2 separate regions of the Homo sapiens genome follow, and region 2 is linked to region 1. The links are contacts of gene promoters, found by promoter capture Hi-C in human tissues and cell types (Jung and others, 2019). All regions are on one chromosome and are shown on one strand. Each heading gives the region's core, a stretch centred on a gene start or on the middle of the fragment in contact. The rest is flanking DNA. Distances are from core to core; before and after follow the strand shown. Region 1 holds the start of ZNF862 (zinc finger protein 862). Region 2 holds the start of ATG9B (autophagy related 9B).

Region 1 (5,967 bases), core at 815-3,314:
ATGGTGAAATCCTGTCTCTACTAAAAATACAAAAATTAGCAGGGTGTGATGGTGCACGCCTGTAGTCCCAGCTACTCAGGAGGCTGACACAGGGGAATTGTTTGAACCTGGGAGGTGGAGGTTGCAGTGAGCCAAGATTGAGCCACTGCACTCCAGCCTGGGTGACAGAGAGAGACTCCATCTCAAAAAAAAAAAAAAAAAAAAAAGTGTTCCTATCCCTAGGAAGGGCCCTCGATACCCTGTTCCTAGACCCTCCTGATTTCTCAAGGACTTGGTTCCTTGCACTATCCCCCTTTGAATCATCAGTTTCCTTCCCATCAACACAGAAACAAGATCTTGTGACTCATATCTTAGTCCTACTGCTTTGATTCCCCATTTCCCCCTAGATACTGCTCCATTTTTCTTGGAAAGATGGAAAACCTTTTATGGAAAAATGTGTCAAAAGAATGATTTACCCTAGCTGTCCTCCAGTTTTTTAACCCCTAAAAGAGAATCTGTTATAAAGACATGGATAACTCATGGGCAGAAATATAGCTCTTCAAGGTAGTGATATAGTCGAGGTGGTGAGTGGCAGGCCACTTGGAATCCACAGAGTCCTCACTCTCTGCCTTCTCCTCCACATTTCTTGTGTCTCATTCTTTTTTTCAGTAATGCAGACTCCCCTACACTCCTCGAACGGAATTTAGGTCTATTCAACCTTGGCCAGAAGAGCAGAGCTGGATAATGGAAAACGCTTACTTGAAGCCTGTGTAACATGGTGAAACCCTGTCTCTACTAAAAATACAAAAAAATTAGTTGACCATTGTCTTAATCTCTATGTGCTTCTGTAACAAAATCCCTGGAACTAGGTAATTTATAAATTATGGATACTTATTTCTTATGATTCTGGAGGCTGGGAAATCCAAGATCAAAGCACCAGCAGTGTCTGTGTCTGGTGAGAGCCTGGTCTCTGCTTCCAGGAGGGCACCTTTTTGCTCTGTCCTCACATGGCAGAAGGCAGAGGGGCAGAAGGGCAAAGGGCCTAGCTAGTTCCCCCAGCACGCATGTGGTCACTAACACCTTCATGAAGGCACATCCCTGCCCTGGCCCCCTAAAAGTCTTTTTTTTTTTTGAGACATGGTCTTGCTCTGTCACCCAGGCTGGAGTGCAGAAGCGCCATCCCGGCTTACTGCAGCCTCGACCACCCAGGCTCAAGTGATCCTTCCACCTCACAAAATTATTTTATTTTTATAGAGATGGGATCTCTCACTGTGTTGCACAGGCTGGTCTCAAACTACTGGGCTCAAGTGATCCTCCTGTCTCAGCCTCCCAAAGAGTTGGGATTAGAGGTGTGAGCCACCGCACTTGGACAAAACTTCTTATAAGGACACTAATCCCACCATAAGGGCCTGACCCTCACGACTTCATCTAAACCTCCCAAACGCCCCATCTCCTGGGAGGGGAACACCGGTCAGTCCATTGCACCTCCTTTACCTGGCAGACCCTACCTCTTGCTTTAATTCTGCTGAGGCATCACTTCCGCAGGAAATCCTTGACTAAGCACCTCATATCCCCCACCGCTTCACTCTAAGGTGACAACGCGGGCTTTAATTCATGTTTTGTGCTTACCTCTTTCATAGCCCTTGTCTCTGTTTTGTAATTATCTGTTTCTGGTCTGATTCCCTAATAGATCGTGAGTTCCTTGAAGGCAAGGCCTTTGTCTCATTCAACTGTGTTCTCCCAAACCCTAGAACACGGCCTGACCCATGGTAGGCAACCAATGATACTTTTTGAGTGAATAGAACAAAAAGTATTGCCCTCCTTAATAAAAGAAAACCTAGAACTTCAAGGCTGACATTGGCCTTCGCGTAGCCCAATCAGAGCGCTTTGCCCTTGCTGCAGAGGACTAAAGGACGCCACGCCGCCGTTGCCTAGTAACTGTCGCCGGAGGGAGGCGGGGAGGGTCGCAAGCGCGCCGCCGGCGTCCAATCAGGACCTGCGTTCCGGGAGCCAATAGCAGCTTCGAGAGCCGCTCACCTAGAGCGGACTACACTTCCCGTCACGCCCCGCCGCCTGGGGCTGGGCAGTGACCGTAAAGCTGTTCGCTCGGTGCGACGCAAGTCTCAGCTCAGCGCGCTTATCCTGGGTCCACCGGCGCTACCGCCCCCCGACGTGAGAGAGCGAAGTTCTTGGGCCGCGCTCCCTCCCTACCTGGGTGCCCTCCCCCTCCGGGAGCCTGGGTCCCCGGGGCGGTCGCGGCGGCTGCATCCTCAGGCCAGGCCGCGGGGGGAGGGGGCGGCACGGGCCTCCGAAAGCGGGGCCATGGAGCCCAGAGAGTCGGGGAAGGTAGGACTGGAAGGCCCGGGGGCCGCCCGCTCCCTCCCGAGGATCCCCGAGCCGGGCTCGGGCGAGGCGGGGCGGCTCGGGCGGAGGCCCCGCAGATGAGCCAGGCTTGCAGGGAAGGACTCGCCGGCCCGCCCTCTCTTCCCGCACTTCGGCGCCCGACCCCGGGAGGGTGGCGGAGAGGAGCGGACGCTTCCGTTCGGTGTCCGCGCATCCTCCCCGAGCTGCCGAGCGTCCGCTGGGTCGATGCTGGGTTGGGTGACCCCCGAGTGGAGCGATGCGAAGGTGCTTCCTGTTTTCCCCACCACCTTCGGCGTTTTGAAGAGGCCCTGCTAAGGCTTGGAGTCTGGATCGGACGCCAGTGGGAGCTGCAGGGTGGGACGCTTGAGGGCTTGACCCTGCCTAGATCCTCCTTACCAAGAAAGGGCTGAAAAGAGAGGGCATCTGGCATGCTTTTTGCCACTTCTGTTTCTAGGTTATGTACTTCATGGAATATCTGGGCATTGCTTAGAAACCTGTGTCATAAATTGGCTTTGGGCAAGAGGCTTTGAGTTGGAAGAAAAGGTGGAAAGAAAGTGCTTGGGGGCGGAGTTCAGGGATTTGACGGGATTGCCAGCGCTTCCAGGCCGTGTCATCCAAGACCAGTGTGGTTGTGGGCACATTAGCTTGGAGACAGTGGCAGCCTCTTGGGACTAACATCTTTCTGGATGTTGTTTGCTGCCAGTTCTTGAGTATTGTTTCTTATTTGGCACAGAGGAGAATTCTCTCAACAAACGTTTTCGACTGTTTATTGAGTCCCTTAAAAAACTGTCCATTTAATAAACATTTGTGATCTGTGATTTGCATTGAACGAGATGCTGGAAGTATGAGGATAAATAGGAAATGATCACCTTTCTCAAGGAGCTCTCCTGCAGTTTTCACTTCAATAACTTGGACACGCCTGAAAGGGTTGTCCCACACGAAAAGAGAGAAAAGGATAATGAGGTTCTTTTGATGCTGTAGTTTTTCCTGGGAAGACTAGGAAGGACTCTGAATTTCAAAAGAGGTGATTTCTCGCATGAGCATCTCTTCCATCCTCCCTCCCTCCACAAGCTACAGTGATGCATGTAGCAGACACGGCACCTACAGAGTACGTGGTCCAAGCCAATAAAGCTCAACAAAACCCAAGCAAAGATGGAGCTTATGGCCCTTACCCTTTGGAAATATCCCCAGATTGGTTTAGATTGAACCTGAATTTGAATAAAGAGAAGCAAAATGTAGGGGGAAGAAGGATTATAAAATATTGGGATTGATATTGGTATCAGTGATTTGAAGTTGATTTCCAAGCTATTCTGTTCAGTCAGAGGCTTTCTTAGCCTTTAACGGGAGAAGAGAAATACGGTCATGCGCTGTATAACAAGGTTTCCATCAACACCGCTCTCACGTACAATCCCCTGAGACTACAGTGGGGCTGAGAAATTCCTATCACCTGGTGACATCTTCATGATCCTGACCCTGTGTAGGCTTAGGCTAATGTGTGTGTTTGTGTCTTAGGTTTTAAGAAAGCTTAAAAAGTAAAAAAAAAAAAAAAAAAAAAAAAAAAAAAAATTTAAAAATACAAAACCTCATAGAATTAGAATATAAAGAAAAATACTTTTTGTTGATGGAATGGTTTGCTGGAAAATAAAAATACAAAAATATTTAAAGAAAAATATTGTACAGGTGTACAATGTGTGTTAAGCTAAGTGTTATTACAAAAGAGTCAAAAGTTTAAAAAATTAAGTTTATAAAGTAAAACAGTTACAATAAGCTAGGGTTAATTTATTATTGAAGAAAGAAAAATTTTTGATAAATTCGGCGTAGCCTTAGTGTGCAGTGTTTATAAAGTCTACAGAAGTGTTCAGTCATGTCCTAGGCCTTCACATTCTCTCACCACTCACTCACTCACTCACTCACTCACCCAGAGCAACTTCCAGTCCTGCAAGCTCCATTCATGGTAAGTGCCCAATACAGATGGACCTTTTTTTTTTTTTTGTCTTTTCTACCATATTCTTACTGTACCTTTTCTATGTTTAGATACGCAAATACTTACCATGTGTTACAGTGGCCTACAGTTTTCAGTACAGTAACATACTGTGTAGGATTGTAGCCTAGGGGGCAAAAGGCTATATACCATATAGCCTAGATATGTAGTAGGCTGTACCATGTAGTTTTGTATAAGTACACTCTGTGATGTTCCACAATGACAGAACTGCCTAAGGACACATTTCCTAGAACTTATCCCTGTTGTTAAGCAACACATGACTGTACAAACATTTTGGGAGGTAGAGGAGAAACCTGATTCCGTGTCCTGTCCAACCACTAAGTGAAACCTCAGAGACTGGAAATTTCACCCTTGATTATAATCTTGATTTTAGGGTATCTCAGAAAGGTGCTCACCCTTCCCAAAGATAGTTGTTTTCTAATATGGGAAATGAGAACTTCATACAAGAATGAAATAAAGTAATTACAAAACCAACTGTCAGTGTAAGATGTGTTGCAAATGAGTGACAAGGAATAGCGGTGCTGTTCTACAACTCCACTCCGAACAGCATTCTTATGGCTCAGAACTGGGAGACTACCTCGTGAGATAGTGGTTTGGTCTATTACTAGACTCTTCCTTGGGTGCTGTTTTGTGGTCTTTATTAACTGACAGCCATCTTGGGCCATTGGATTGATATCCCACATTGAATGTAGGACATCTTGCCTGTCATTGACAGAATAATGGATAAGGGTCAGACTTTTCCCCATCATGTTCTATCCCATGATCCTGTTTTATTTTCTTCCTAACCCTTATCACTAAATAAAATTCTCATGTTCATTTATTTATTTACGTATTTGTTGACTTGACTCTTACATCCCCAGCTAGAACAGTGGAGCAGTTCCTGGCATTTAATAGGGTCTCAGGAAGGAATGCTCATAAAATAGCATCACTACAGGAGCCCTTTTGCTGCAAGGTGTGGGTGCTCTGAAGAACACTGCAGCCCGCCACCTCATGTGCCTCCTAGGAGACTGTGCTGTTGGTGCCCCGAAAGAGAAGTCTATATGTGTACTTGTTGCTGTATGTATTTGTTGCCTCAACGTTTCTGTTTCTTGGCCCTCTCTATCTTTCCTGTACAAGTGACTGATACTCCTTTCTCATTTTTTTCTGAACATGGTTCTATTATTGCACTTATATCTTAGTTGTCTGCCACCTCCTGATAGATTTTAATCTCATATCTTTGAATTACCATGCATCAAGCACATAGAAACACTTAAGTAATAAATGTGTGTTGAATGAAAAAATGAATTAAATGCCTATAAAATACTTTCCATATAGCATGGTTGTGGGGGGAAGGGTGGTGTTGATGAAGGAAGTTATAAAATCAAGCAGCATAGATTTCCTTAACACTGGACTCCAGGGGGGATATAAAGCCTTCCTTGCTCAGGAGAAGGATAAATGCTTGGGCCAGGTGGTTAGGAAATCCTTCCTGAAAGAGAACGTGAATCGCGACTTTATGGGTGGGTAGATTCTAAGTTGGTGGGAGGAAGTGTGCAGTCAGGATCTAAAGACTGGGAATGTAGAGAGAGGAAAGGTGCGAGATAGGCTGGGTGATTAAAATGATATGAATCTGGCTGGAGGAGACA
Region 2 (5,506 bases), core at 1,432-3,931, 1.2 Mb after region 1:
CTAATTTTTGTATATTTTAGTAGAGACAGGGTTTCACCATGTTGGCCAGAATGGTTTTGATCTCCTGACCTTGTGATCCGCCCGCCTCGGCCTCCCAAAGTGCTGAGATTACAGGTGTGAGCCACCACGCCCAGCCGCACTCTTACATTTTAAAGTTGTTCTCAGCTACAATTTCCTTCTTTTTTTTTTTTCCTTTTTATTGAAACAAGGTCTCTCTCTGTTACCCAGGCTGTAGTGCAGCAGTAGAAACATAGCTCCTATCTCCCTGCCAAATAACGGCCCAGGTCTGGAACAGTTATTTGGTTGGTTGGCAAAGAGAACATTGCAATCCATGCTTCAGGGAGGAAGGTTGTGAAGGCAACAATGAAAATGAATCGTCTGCTGGGAGGGAGGAGGGTGTAGGGATGCTGCAGTGATCAGAGACAGTCACTGTCTTAGCCTCCTGACTAGGCTTAGCTAGGACTGCAGGTACGCACCACCAAGCCCAGCTAATTTTTATTTTTTATAGAGATGTGGTCTCACTTTGTTGCTCAGGCTGATCTCAAACTTCTGGCTTCAAGCAATCCTCCTGCCTCAGCCTCCCAAAGTGCTGGGATTACAGGTGTGAACCACTATGCCCGGCCTAATTTTAATTTTTTATAAGGTAAAATGTGGATAGATACGACTCCCATAAACAAAAGCTTTTCAGGATTCTCAACCAATTTTAAGTGTATTAAGATACACTTAATGCACTGTAATTAAGATACACTTAAAAGGCCGGGCACAGTGGCTCACACCTGTAATCCCAGCACTTTGGGAGGCCAAAGTGGGTGGATCACCTGAGGCCAGGAGTTCCAGACCAGCCTGGCCAACATGGTGAAACCCTGTCTCTACTAAAAATACACGTGGTGGTGCACGCCTATAATCCCAGCTACTGGGGAGGCTGAGGCAGGAGAATTGCTTGAACCTGGGAGGTGGAGGTTGCAGTGAGCCAAGACCTCACCATTGCACTCCAGCCTGAGCAACAAGAGTGAAACTCTGTCTTAAAAAAAAAAAAAGATATACTTAATACACTTTAAGTACAACTTAATACACTTAAGTACAACTTAAAGTATATTAAGTGTATTTTTGGTCCTAAGACCAAAAGCTTTGAGAACTGCTGATCTAGATGACGGGACAAAGTGGGGCTCCCGTCTACTCCTCTACCCACTGCCCATGCTTCACCCCCAGGGCCCCACCAGGTTGTCACTAACCTCTCAGCACACTGGGCTGAGGGTAGGATGGCATCTGACAGGGTCACTTTGCTGTGGAACGGCCCAGGTCTGGTATGGTTACTTGGTTGGTTGGCAAAGAGAACATTGTAATCCACGCATCGAAGGAGGAAGGTTGTGAAGGTGACAATGAAAATAAATTGTCTGCCGGGAGGAAGGGGGGGTGCCGGGATGCTGCAGTGATCAGGGACAGCCAGGTGGGCTCCTGCCCCAGCCCCCAGAGCAGCCCATGGTTATCCTCCCTGACCCTGCCCCTGCTGAGCCCTTGGGCTGCTCGGGAAAGCATGGGATGGAAGCAGCTGGCACAATTAAGGAAGCAAAATGACAGAAGGAAGCCATGGGCCCAGGGGACCGAGTTCCGGGCCCGGGCTAAGCGTCTCACCCCAGCTGGAAGACATCCTCCAGCAAGATGCAGGCAAAGCCATTCCGCTGGTGGTAGCTGTAGATGTGGCTGCGTGTCAAGGAACAAGCCTGAGGCACGGGGGGCCTCTCCTGAGGACACCTCCCCTCAGCCCCAACAAGTCTCCCACCCATGACGCCCTCACGGAGTCTCCCTGCCAAGAACAGTGCCAGCTCCAAGAGGACCTTCCCATGCCACCTCTGCAGGCCTAGCGCAAAGGATATCTTGGTGAAGAAACTGTCCAGGTTCTGGATGTGATGCCAGGAGCCTGGGCACAGAGGGGAGAGTGTCAGCCCCTGGCATGTGATCAATTCTCCACGTTCTCAACCCGCTGCCAGAGGCCCAGCCTGGGATAAGTACTGGAGCTCCCAGGCACCACTAACCCTCTCCCACCCACACCCACACACATACCTCGGAGCCCTTCAGGGACATGAAGCAGGGGTTGCTGCTCCTCCCCGTGGATGGGTGAGTCTTGGGACCCCTCAGGGTCACAGTCCTCCAGCCGCTCATAATCCTGTTCAGGGATCAAAGGGCCTACCCGCAGCCCAGGAGAGTCCTGGGGGCACTGCTGTGAGGGAGTGGGGGTTGCCGGGGCCAGGGGTGGGGTGGAGTGGGATCCCCAGGAGGGAGATGCAGAGGCAGGTGTCATTGCAGGTTGAGCCTGTGTTGGGGGGGTGGCTGGGATAGGGAGAGCACTGTGGCAAGACTGAGAAGCCCCTGTCCCCTGTAGCACTGAGCAAGGGGGCCCTGCGGTGGGAGGGGAAAATGAGGAGGGGGAGCTTCTTGTATGAGGGGCAGGGGACAGAGAGAAGATGGAGATCCTCCCTCCCCCAGGTCCCCGGCATGAAGGAGGAGGAGGAGGTGGCAGTGGCATGGGGAGGAGGGGCACCGATCCGGGCCCCAGATCTCCCCACCGCCCCAGCCGCCTTCTTCTCCCCCCCCAGCCCATTCGGCTCACCATCAGGCCACGGCTTCTCCAGAAAGGTTGGAAGGATGGGAGCTGTTGTTGCTTCCACAAAGGTCTGTGACACTGAGCTGGGACTTCAACAGGAACAATGACAACAACATTACTAGGTGACTCAGCCTAGGCAGGCCTCAGGCGTCCCAGCTCTCAGTCACCTGTCTGATCACTCACACCCCTTCCAGGGCAACCTGAGGCCAAATCCCTCAGGGCCTGAGAGGGGCATCAGTTTAAGAGGAGGGGCCAAAGAGCACATTGAGATGAGAAGATTCCTATTATCTCCATCTTCAGACCTTGAATGAATGAAAGATAAAAAGAACAGCAGCCAAAATGACAAAAGCAAAAAGCAAAATCGTGTTAGAGCCAGGTGTGGTGATGTGTGCTTGTGTTCCTAGCTACTCAAGAGACTGAGGTGGGAGGATGGCTTGGTGCAGGTTACACTGGAACAGTATAGGTTACAGTGAGCTAGATCCTGCCCCCTGCCACCCCCCCCAAAAACATCCTATTAAAGGATTGTAGCAGGGCGCAGTACCTCACACTTGTAATCAATCTCAGCACTTTGGGAAGCCGAGGAAAGAGGATTGCTTGAGGCCAGGAGTTCAAGACCAGCCTGGGGAACAGAATGAGAAGACTCCATCTCTACAACAAATCTTAGGACCAAGATGTTAACTATTTCATTTCTTAAGAGTGTACCTCCCCCACTTCCCTCCACACACACACTACAGTGATCAACAGAGAAATGTTTTGTGACCAAAACAGAAAAGAAGAAGTAAAGGGGCCAGGCATGTTGGCTTACACCCGTAATCCCAGGACTTTGGGAGGCCCGGGCGAGAGGATCACTTGAGGCCAGGAGTTCGAGACCAGCCTGAGCAACTTAGGGAAACACCATCTCTACAAAATCTAAAAAACAAACAAAATAATTTTTTTTCTTTTTGAGGCAGTCTCACTCTGTCACCCAGACTGGAGTATAGTGGCACAATCTCGGCTCACTGCAACCTCCGCCTCCCAAGTTCAAGTGATTCTTCTGCTTCAGCCTCCTGAGTAGCTGAGACTACAGGTGTGTGCCACCACACCCAGCTAATTTTTTGTATTTTTAGTAGAGATGGGGTTTCACCATGTTGGCCAGGCTGGTCTTGAACTCCTGACCTCGTGATCCACCCGCCTTGGCCTCCCAAAGTGCTGGCATTACAGGCGTGAGCCACTGCGCCTGGTCAAAAATAAATTTTTTAAAAAGAATAAGAAAAGGTTGCATGTTTTATTGGTCTGAGGTGCTAAGGAAGAGAAGAGGGGAGGCTGACTTTGCAGCCAAGTTGGGGAAAACTAAGAAGAGGAGGTGAAGAAAGGAAAGGCAGCTATCTTGGATTTGAGAGTTGGTTTGGAGAACTTAGAGTAGAAAATTGGGGTTCTCTGAAAGTTCCATTCCGTTTGCATCCTTATCATTTTCAACTGTGACATTCTCTCAAGTCCGGATCCCACTTCTGGGACCCCCTGAAAAGCATCAGGGCTGAATCAGAAGGGAGGACAGCTGTGAGTCTGGGACTTGGAAGGATAATTTGGATACCCAGGGAGGAGCTGAACTGAGTTCCTTGTTGTCACCTCAACAAGGAGGAGGAGACCCAGGCAGCTGGTCTGGTGGCTTGCCCAACGCCATTCTTGAGGCCCTGAATCACCAGGTTTCCTTCTAAAGCCCATTACTGAGATACTGACTCAGCCACCAGGTGTCAAGGTCTCTAGGGCTTAGGCCTAAGGGCTGATGTTGGGGCCAGTACCCCTGAAATGGCGATATGGACACTGTGCTTCCCAGATTGTTCACTGGAGGCAATCATGGAATCACCCACAAAACTTGAATCCAGATGTGCCTGATTTTCTCCTTCTGTGTGGGGTATTGTAGTAGTAGCTCAGGTCTTGCATGCCTTTATCTCAGAGTAGGAGGCAGAGCTATGAAAACAAGACCCTGTCCTTCTAGAGGTAGCAAAATGGAATCCCACATTGCAGAGGGGCCAGGAAATTCCCATAATCTTTCTGAGACATCTGTCAAGATGGGTTATGTGGGGTGTTGTCTAGTCTCTCCCCCACCTCACTCGCCCAATGTCACTCAGTATCGTGGCTATTCCACCATAGTCACAATAGGACCCCCCCATACACCAAGAGCTCCCCAGCTCAACCCCAAACTAATCCTGGGACATTGTCCTACCTAGTTTCACCCTGAATTCATTCTCATTGACAGCCTCCCTACCACCACTCCCAATTCAAGTCGATTTATTTTAAAGGGCACTTTTCCTTGCCAAGCATTTGGAAGGGAAGAGGACAGATGAATAAAACAGAGCCACTACCCAAGAAGCTGCAGCCCAGTGGGGAGACAAATACGCAAACAAGTAATTACAGGGAAGAAACGAGTGGTGCAAACTCTTTGGCAGGAGCCTGAGGCAAGTCATTCTGACCCGGGTGAGGAAGGTATCTGCGAGGCAGACAGATCTGAGGCCGCGCCTTGATAAATTACAGGCCCTCCATACCAATAGTTCTCAATGGCTGAGGCGTAGGGCAAGAGTGTCAGAATCACCGGGGGAGTTCTTCCCCAAGTACACGTGACTGTGGGGAAAAGAAAGAGAGATCAGATTGTTCCTGTGTCTGTGTAGAAAGAAGTAGACATAGGAGACTCCATTTTGTTCTGTACTAAGAAAAATTCTTCTGCCTTGAGATGCTGTTGATCTGTAACCCTACCCCCAACCCTGTGCTCCCTGAAACATGTGCTGTGTCAACTCAGGGTTAAATGGATTAAGGGCTGTGCACGGTGTGCTTTGTTAAACAAATTCTTGAAGGCAGCATGCTTCTTAAGAGTCATCACCACTCCCTAATCTCAAACCACTCCCTAATCTCAAGTACCCAGACACAAAA

What was found. Contacts are between HindIII fragments. The study calls those that stand out against the background at their distance.
Region 2: a contact is called between the fragment with the promoter of ATG9B here and the fragment with the promoter of ZNF862 in region 1, in 1 of the 25 tissues and cell types used here (dorsolateral prefrontal cortex).

Annotation. Positions count from the first base shown.
Region 1 is chr7:149,836,311-149,842,277 of GRCh38, forward strand. It overlaps ZNF862 (zinc finger protein 862), which reads left to right and starts at 2,065. Exons shown (of 8, transcript NM_001099220.3): 1 at 2,065-2,325. The coding sequence starts at 2,302. RefSeq lists a silencer at 2,141-2,600. The HindIII fragment of the contact is 30,621 bases long and covers 1-5,967 here.
Region 2 is chr7:151,021,813-151,027,318 of GRCh38, forward strand. It overlaps ATG9B (autophagy related 9B), which reads right to left and starts at 2,682. Exons shown (of 14, transcript NM_001317056.2): 1 at 2,062-2,682; 2 at 1,875-1,918; 3 at 1,633-1,697; 4 at 1,233-1,394. The coding sequence starts at 2,611. LOC124901777 (a long non-coding RNA gene) reads right to left here. Exons shown (of 3, transcript XR_007060593.1): 2 at 4,995-5,200; 3 at 3,183-3,221. RefSeq lists enhancers at 3,593-4,197, 4,803-5,406, 5,407-5,506. The HindIII fragment of the contact is 10,457 bases long and covers 904-5,506 here.